Regions from separate parts of the Homo sapiens genome. Here region 1 is linked to region 2. Evidence: promoter capture Hi-C in human tissues and cell types (Jung and others, 2019). All regions are on one chromosome and are shown on one strand. Each heading gives the region's core, a stretch centred on a gene start or on the middle of the fragment in contact. The rest is flanking DNA. Distances are from core to core; before and after follow the strand shown.

The links. The method cuts DNA at HindIII sites, captures the fragments that hold promoters and counts their contacts. A contact is called where the count stands out against the background at its distance.
Region 1: the fragment with the promoter of EPX here is called in contact with a fragment that was not itself captured in region 2 in 1 of the 25 tissues and cell types used here (spleen).

What each region holds. Positions count from the first base shown.
Region 1 is chr17:58,190,782-58,194,911 of GRCh38, forward strand. EPX (eosinophil peroxidase) reads left to right here and starts at 1,945. Exons shown (of 13, transcript NM_000502.6): 1 at 1,945-2,141; 2 at 2,257-2,350; 3 at 2,590-2,765; 4 at 2,933-3,050; 5 at 3,182-3,311. The coding sequence starts at 2,066. The HindIII fragment of the contact is 10,445 bases long and covers 1-4,130 here.
Region 2 is chr17:57,852,278-57,856,229 of GRCh38, forward strand. No RefSeq gene overlaps it. Among named protein-coding and RNA genes, the nearest start is that of MRPS23, 4.2 kb to the left of the region's middle. The HindIII fragment of the contact is 4,394 bases long and covers 1-3,952 here.

The sequences.
Region 1 (4,130 bases), core at 695-3,194, 340 kb after region 2:
AACCTGGGGTACATGCACCCCACCCTGCCTCCAACCTAGGGTACATACAGCCCACCCCAACTCCAACCTGGGTTACATACACCCTACTCTGGCTCCAAGCTATGGTACATACACCCCACCCTGGCTCCAACCTAGGGTACATACACCCTACTCCAACTCCAACCTGGGTTATATACACCCCACCCTGGCTCCAAGCTGTGGTACATACACCCCATCCAGCTCCAACCTGGGGTACATGCATTCCACCTGGCTCCACCCGGGGAGCACCTGGCTCCCTGAGGGCCGGGAGGTGACACACAGCTGAGGAGTGCTGTGTGATTTATATAATCTCTCTCCTCCATGAGGCTCCCTGTCCCCATCTCACAGGTTTGGAAACAGGTCCATGGAGGGGTGTGATTTACCCAGTCACTCAGTGGGTCAGCATCAAGGAACCCAGTGTGCTTTCAGCTCCTACACAGTGACTTCTACCCAGGCCCCCCGTCACAGGAGAGGGGCCTCCGCTAAAGATAAGGAGATAAGATTAGGAGGGCTCAGGCCATCAACTGGAGCTTGTGAAAGGGGTTGCCGAAGAGAGGTGGTTGTTTCAAGAGCAACGGTTGGGCTGGTAACATTGCTGTGGGAGGAGGAGGCTGTGGAAGGCACCGGGCAGGGTTTCGGTAGGGTGTGGGGGTGGGGGAGGAGAAAGGACACTTGGAACAGCCTCCCTGGGAGTCTGGAGCAGGCACGGGGTCCACACTGAAGAAGGAATGGACGTGTCCTCCTGAAGAAGGGGCGAGGACACGCAGGCTGCTGGCCACAGTGGTGGTGACTCTGGAACTGTCTCAGGGATGAGCATGTGCTCTCCAGGCAGCCGGGATGAGGTCAGAGGCAAAGGATGAACCTGGCTCATCCAGGGCAGGGAACTACAGGAGGAAGGCTTAGGTGCAGAGAGGGTGGGCCCTGGCAGAAGGCCGACTGGGATGCACTCTGCACTTAAGGTGGAAATGGAGGCGCACTTAAGGTGGAAATGGAGGCTCACCCAAGGTCACGAAGCTAGTGACAGGGCTGGATTCAATCCAGGCCAATCAGACCCTGGTGCAGCACACTGCCTCTAAAGAAGCTACTTCTCACCAAGCCCAATAGGAACTCATAATTGAAATCTACTTCTCAGAGTAAACCTACTACTGATTGGCACCTAAGAAACTCCAAGAGAATAAAGCCCATGGCGGGCGCTTACTTTTAGGCTCTGCAGCAGCTCACTGGGCTGGGTGTTTTACCTGTGACATCTCGCCATGTCCCCAAAATGGCCCCATGAGGGATTTCACTGCCAGGCCCTGCCTCAGTCACAGCCTCACACTCTCCCTGGCACCTTGGAGGGAGTGAGTAGGGCTAGGGGATAAGGAGAGGGGCCAAATCATTCATCACAGATCATTCATTCACTCAACAAACACCTGCTAAGCACATACTAAATGCTGGGCTTTGAGCTGGGTATGGGGGGTGTGTATAACAGTAAGGCAGATTCAGTTTCTGCCCTGTTGCAGGAGGAGAGGCACCCTTCCAATCATCTGGCCCAACTCTCATTCTAGGGATGTGAAAACTGAGGCCTGGAGAGGGAAAGTGGCTTGCCCAAGGCCATGCAGCCAGGCGGTGGCGACTGAGGTGCACCGCTCCTGTCAGCCAACAAATATCCATTGAGCGACACCTGTGTCCCAGGTGCTGCTCTGGGCCCTGGGAGAAGTGCATCAGTGGGCTTGGTAGTAGAGGGTAGGGATGGAGTGAAGGGTAGGCAGGAAGAATGTCCCCAGGCTGGTAGGAGGTGGGGTGGGGGGTTTCAGTCTCAAAACTCCCATGAAAACCAGAGAGAAGTTTCAGAACTCCACCCAAGAGGCTGGGTTTCTAGGGCCCAGAGCTGCCCTCCCCCACCCTAGAATGGGCTATAAAAGTCCCTTCCCAGCTACGTCCAGAGAAGAGCTGGAGGAAGTGAGAGGTCGGCTGGGGGTCCTCAAAGTGAGAGGGGAGCAGAGGATCCTCCCGTGCAGGCTGTGGATGTCACTCACTTCCCAGCTGGTGAAGCCTCGCTGCAGAGATGCATCTGCTCCCAGCCCTGGCAGGGGTCCTGGCCACACTCGTCCTCGCCCAGCCCTGTGAGGGCACTGACCCAGGTAATAGTCCCCTAGACAGGCAAGGAGGAGGGAGGGGAAATGGAAGGGGAAGCACTTGGGTCTTGGAGGGGGTCTTGTGGCTTGCTGAACCCTGAGTCCCCATCTCTTTGAACAGCCTCCCCTGGGGCAGTGGAGACCTCGGTCCTGCGAGACTGCATAGCAGAGGCCAAGTTGCTGGTGGATGCTGCCTACAATTGGACCCAGAAGAGGTGGACTTGGGTCTGGGGGCTGCATGGGCCTGGGAGGATCAGTGAGGGGCATGGGCCCCAGCCAAGTTCATCTCACTCATCAGCCACCTCTGGACCCCATGAACATTTCCTGTTGGTAGAGCCTCCCTTCCATCCATCCTTCTGTCCGCTTGCCCTGTCCTGACTGTGCCCCAGGACTGGGTCTCTGCTGGGTGGGTCTGCACCCTCTCTCCAGCCCTCACTCCTCCTCTCCTGGGCAGCATCAAGCAGCGGCTTCGCAGCGGTTCAGCCAGCCCCATGGACCTCCTGTCCTACTTCAAACAACCGGTAGCAGCCACCAGGACAGTTGTTCGGGCCGCAGATTATATGCATGTGGCTTTGGGGCTGCTTGAAGAGAAGTTACAACCCCAGCGGTCCGGACCCTTCAATGTCACTGGTACTCTGATCCCCACTGAGCCCGCTGGGCCTACCCTGGCCTGGAGTAGAAGGAATCCAGGAGAGGGAGGCAGGGTGCACAGGTTTGGGGTGCTGGGAGGAGAGAGGGTAAAGGGATGGGAGGTACAGAGCAGGCCAGCTCAGGTCTGCCCATTTGCCTTCCCACAGATGTGCTAACAGAACCACAGCTGCGGCTGCTGTCCCAGGCCAGTGGCTGTGCTCTCCGGGACCAGGCCGAGCGCTGCAGCGACAAGTACCGCACCATCACTGGACGGTGCAACAACAAGTGCGTGCGGGGCGGCAGGAGGGGCTGCCCCTGCCTGGGGGACCTCTCCCTTCCTGCACCCACCCTCTCCCTCCATGCTGAGCCATCTCCAGGCCCTGCCCCCTGCTAACCTATCCCACCCATGGCTGCAGGAGGAGACCCTTGCTAGGGGCCTCCAACCAGGCTCTGGCTCGCTGGCTGCCCGCCGAGTATGAGGATGGGCTGTCGCTCCCCTTCGGCTGGACCCCCAGCAGGAGGCGCAATGGCTTCCTTCTCCCTCTTGTGAGTTGGGGCTGAGGGTTTGGGAGGTTGCTTGATCTCTTAAATGCGGGGAGTAAAACACAGCCCAGAGTCACGCAGGCAGGGCTTGAACCCAGGCCCTTCCACTGACCAGTGCAGTGACTTGAGGCAAATAACACAGCTTTCTGAGGCTTAGTTTCCTCATCTGTAAAATGGCCCTAAAACCTACCTCGTAGAGCCTGTGTGGATATTGAAGTCCTTGGTATAAATAGCTATAGAGGACATGATCTATTCATGCTAACCATTACGGTGTTGTACGGTTTTTTCTGAGAAAATTAGTGTCAAAGTCTTGCTAAATATAAACAGCTCTATACCTTAATCTGGCTTTATCTATTGATCTATTTCACATTTATCAACTCATCAGTTTTCTATTGATATATCGATAGAGCAGTCTATCATCTACCCATCTATCAACATCTATTAATTAATTTTCTTCTATCCACCCTTCCATCTGCTGACCCCGTACTCCCTACGTGTATTATCCATCACCTGGCAACCAGCCCATGCACCTGTGAATCCGTGCTATCATCTGGTTAGCTATCAGTGTACAAATTGATCTATCTATTTGATCTCCCTTCCCCTCTGGGAGAGCTGGTGAGGTCTGAGCCAGTCAACCTAGCCCCTCTCCTTCTCTTTACCACCGGAATCCTCAGGAGCCCAGCCAGAAACCATCCTTCTAGGAATGAGAGCAGGAGGTGGCTACGCCTCCAGGGACAAAAGGGGCATGGAGGGCAGAAGAGGAGAGGCTGTCAATTCCAGCAGGGGAGCTGCTGCTCCCTGAGTCCTGGGTTGGCTCTAATA
Region 2 (3,952 bases), core at 819-3,318:
CACACCCAAGAAACATTCATTCATAATACAGGAGCAAGCTGTCGGGCAGCAGGGGGCAGGCAGAATGGACATTTGAGGCTGTCTTCTTGAGTGGGGACCACAGCCGCCCAAGGCTGTGAGGGCCTGGGGCACTTACACCACGCACCACTGTGCCGCGGGAGGTACCAAGGAACCTCAAGTGTCTCATTCAGTTGTTCAACCACCTGCTGACATAGGTAATGTCCTGCTAATCTTACAGATAAGGAAGTGGTGCTTGTAAACTCCCAAAGGCCATGTTCCTACAACACCACTCGGCCTCATATTAATCCCACTGTCTCATTGTAGACGTGCCCACTAATTGCTTCACTCTGAGCAAGTTATGTAACTTTTCGAGCCTCTGTTTCTCCAACTGTTAAAATGTGGAGCTGGGCTCAGTGGCTCATGCTTGTAATCCCAACATTTTGGGAGGCCAGTGTGGGAGGATTGCTTAAGCCAGGAGATCAAAACCAGCCTGGGCAAAATTAGCCAGGTGTGGTGGTGCATGCCTGTAATCCCAGCTACTCAGGGGACTGAGGTGGGAGGATGGCCTGAGCCCAGGAGTTCAAGGCTGCAGTGAGCCATGATCACACCACTGCACTCCAGCCTGGTCAACAGAGCCAAGACCCTGTCTCAAATAATAATAATAATAATAATAATAATAATAATAATAATCTGGATGGCAGTGTCAACTATCTTCGTGGCTTGTTGCAAAAGTAAAAGAGATCATTCATGTAAAGCACTAATCACGGCACCTGGGACATAGTGAGTGCCTGTGAGCAGCAACAAGCCTGATGGCTGTAACAGCAACACGATTGCTGTTGTGCTGTGTCATCCACCCATTGCCACCTGGACTGCAGCATTTTGATAATATTTCATAGATTGCCTTACTGTTTTACTTTCTTGTTAGATGATCCGTTCGTTCCAGAAGCATATAAACACCTACCTGACTATTCTGAGTCTTAGAGAATCCAACGGTCCAGTAGGGAAGACAGAGAGGTAAATACATAAATATTAAGTTATGTGCTGAATAGCTTGTTGATTGTATGAAGTTTGCTAGGCCTGCCCTAACACCACTTGCACACAAAGTGGGTGGCTTAAACACAGATTTATTTTCTCCCTATTCTGGAGGCCAGAAGTCCAAGATCAAGGTGTCTGCAAGTTTAGTTTATTCTGCACTTGGCTAGTTTCTCCTTGCCTTGGAGACAGCTTTCTTCTCCCACGTCTTCACATGGTCTTTCCTCTGTGTGGGAAGGTTTTGTCCTAATCTCTTCTTATGAGGACACCAGTCTTATTGGATTAGGGCCCACCCTACTGACTTCATTTTAACTTAATTACCTCTTTAAAGACTACCTCCTATTATAGTCACATTCTGAGGTACTGGAGTTAGGACCTCAACATATGATTTTTGGGGAGACACAGCTCAGCCCCTAACATAGATCAGTAAGTGCTGAATAGTTCCCATTTGCCCAAGCAGTTCCACACCCACTCTCTGCCGTCCTTCGCCCTGTTCTGTGCCTCGGGAGGCTGGCTTCTGTGGCCTGCATCCACCAGCTCCTTGCCCTCTGCTTCTGGCTGGATTCCAGTTGGTACTGCCAGCGGGCTCCCTCCTGGAACATAAAGTTCTAGAACATAAAATCACAGCTCTCTCACCAGGTTCCAGCCACCGTCCCTCTCCTGCTCCTTCAAGCCTAGACGTAGTTGGCAAGCTGTACCCCTCTGTTATTAGCCACGGGGTCTAGGCCATCCCTTGTGGCTTCCCATCACTCTGCCCACATCTTTGTGACAATGCCCGTATTTAAATAGTGCGTGGAGGTCAGGCGTGATGGCTCATGCCTGTAATCCCAACACTTTGGGAGGCCAAGGCGGGTGGACCACTTGAGGTCAGGAGTTCGAGACCAGCCTGGCCAACATGGCGAAACCTCGTCTCTACTAAAAATAAAATAAAAAATAAAAAATAAAAAAAATTAGGCGGGTGTCATGGCACACACCTGTAATCCCAGCTACTTGGGAGGCTGAGGCAGGAGAATCACTTGAACCCAGGAAGCGGAGGTTGCAGTGAGCTGAGATTGCACCACTGCACTCCACCCTGAGTAACAGAGCAAGACTCCGTCTCAAAAATAAATAAATAAATATTGTGTGGGAATTTGTCAGACAAAATGAGGAAGAGCATCATCCCCAGTAGTGGAACAGCTTTGGTAAGTGAAACTCCCAGCACACTGATGAAATCATGAATGCTGCTACTCACCTATGACAGCTAAAATCAGGGAGCAATTAGCTTTAAAGGGAGGAAAGCAATACAGTATATTCAATACACAGTTTAAGAATTATGTCAGGCCAGCTGTGGAGGATCATGTCTGTAATCCCAGCACTTTGGGAGGCCAAGGCGGGAGGATGACTTGAGGCCAGGAGTTTGAGACTAGCCTGGCCAACATAGCGAGACCTTGTCTCTACAAAAAAAAAAAAAAAAAAAAAAAAAAAAAGAAGAAGAAAAGAAGAGAAAGAAAAAAGTTAGCCAGTGCAGTGGCACAAGCTGGTAGTGCTAGCTACTCATGAGGCTGAGACAAGAAGATTGCTTGCGCCCAGGAGTTCGCAGCTGCAGTGAACTATGATCGTGCCACTGCACCCCAACCTGTGTGACAAAGTGAGCCCTTTTCTCTAAAAAAAGAGAGAGAGGATTATATCAGGATCCGTTAAAAAAAAAAGAATTGTAGGCTTCCTGAGTCTGAGGACCAGGAGGATGAAGGGCAGGGAGGGCTATTAAAGGAGGAGGCAGCCAGGCACAGCTGCTCACGCCTGTAATCCCAGCACTTTGGAAGGCCGGGGTGGGTGGATCACTTGAGGTCAGGAGTTCGAGACCAGCCTGGCCAACGTGATGAAACCCCGTCTCTACTACAAATTTAAAAATTAGCCAGGCATGGTGGTTGGCACCTACAATCCTAGCTACTCGCTACTTGGAAGGCTGAGCCAAGAGAATTGCTTGAACCCAGGAGGCGGAGGTTGCAGTGAACTGAGATCGTGCCACTGCATTCCAGTTGGGGCGACAGAGCAAGACTCCATCTCAAAAAAAAAAAAAAAGGGGGGGGGGAGTCAGAGTACCTTCTCTTTCCTTCCGGCTGTTGGGCTTGTGCCCCTCTCCTGAGAGCTCCCCTTCAGACCCCCTTCCTAGGCTTCAAGGAACTGTCAAGAATCAGTTCAGGTGGAAAAGCTTTTCAGCCCCCAGCACACACTCGGTAAGATCGGGTGAGTGCCCAGACCTGCTCCCTCCCTTCCTATGCTTATCTCTTTCAGGGCTATGTCTGTGTTGTAACTCTGTTTACCTGTCTGAGTCTGGCTACAGGGGCCTTTTTGAGGGCAGGAACTAGGACTTTTAGCTCTGCCTCCCCACACCCGGCCTGGTGCTTGGCCCACAGCTCTCAGAGTTTTCCAGTGAACAGCATGGATAAATAAAGCCAAGTTAGGACAAATGAGGATGCTGTCATCTCAGCCTTCCCTTCACTGCCTGTGCATACCCAGCCCTCCCTCTCTCCCAGGCCCAGCTTTCCTTTGAGGCCTTCCCCAGATACACAGATAGGGAGAGAGCTGTGGGTGAATGGAAATAATCCCCTACCTCACCATTCACTTCACATCGTGAGCATTTCCGGTCTGGCTGTCCTCTGTGCCTCACTGACAGATAGTTCTCTTTTACAGTCCTCTGGGCCTCAGCTTCATTTGTAAAGTGGGGATAATCATAGCACCTAGCAGAGGGTTTGTAGTGAGGCACCAGTGGGTTCATACCTGCTAAGTGTTTAAAACAGTGCCCGGTATATGGTAACTACTCAATAAATAGAGTGATGGTAATTTCGGACTACGCTTTAGAGCAACAGTGTCCTTCAATTAAATCTCACCTGAGGCTGGCTGCCATGACTCATGCCTGTAATCCAGCACTTTGGGAGGC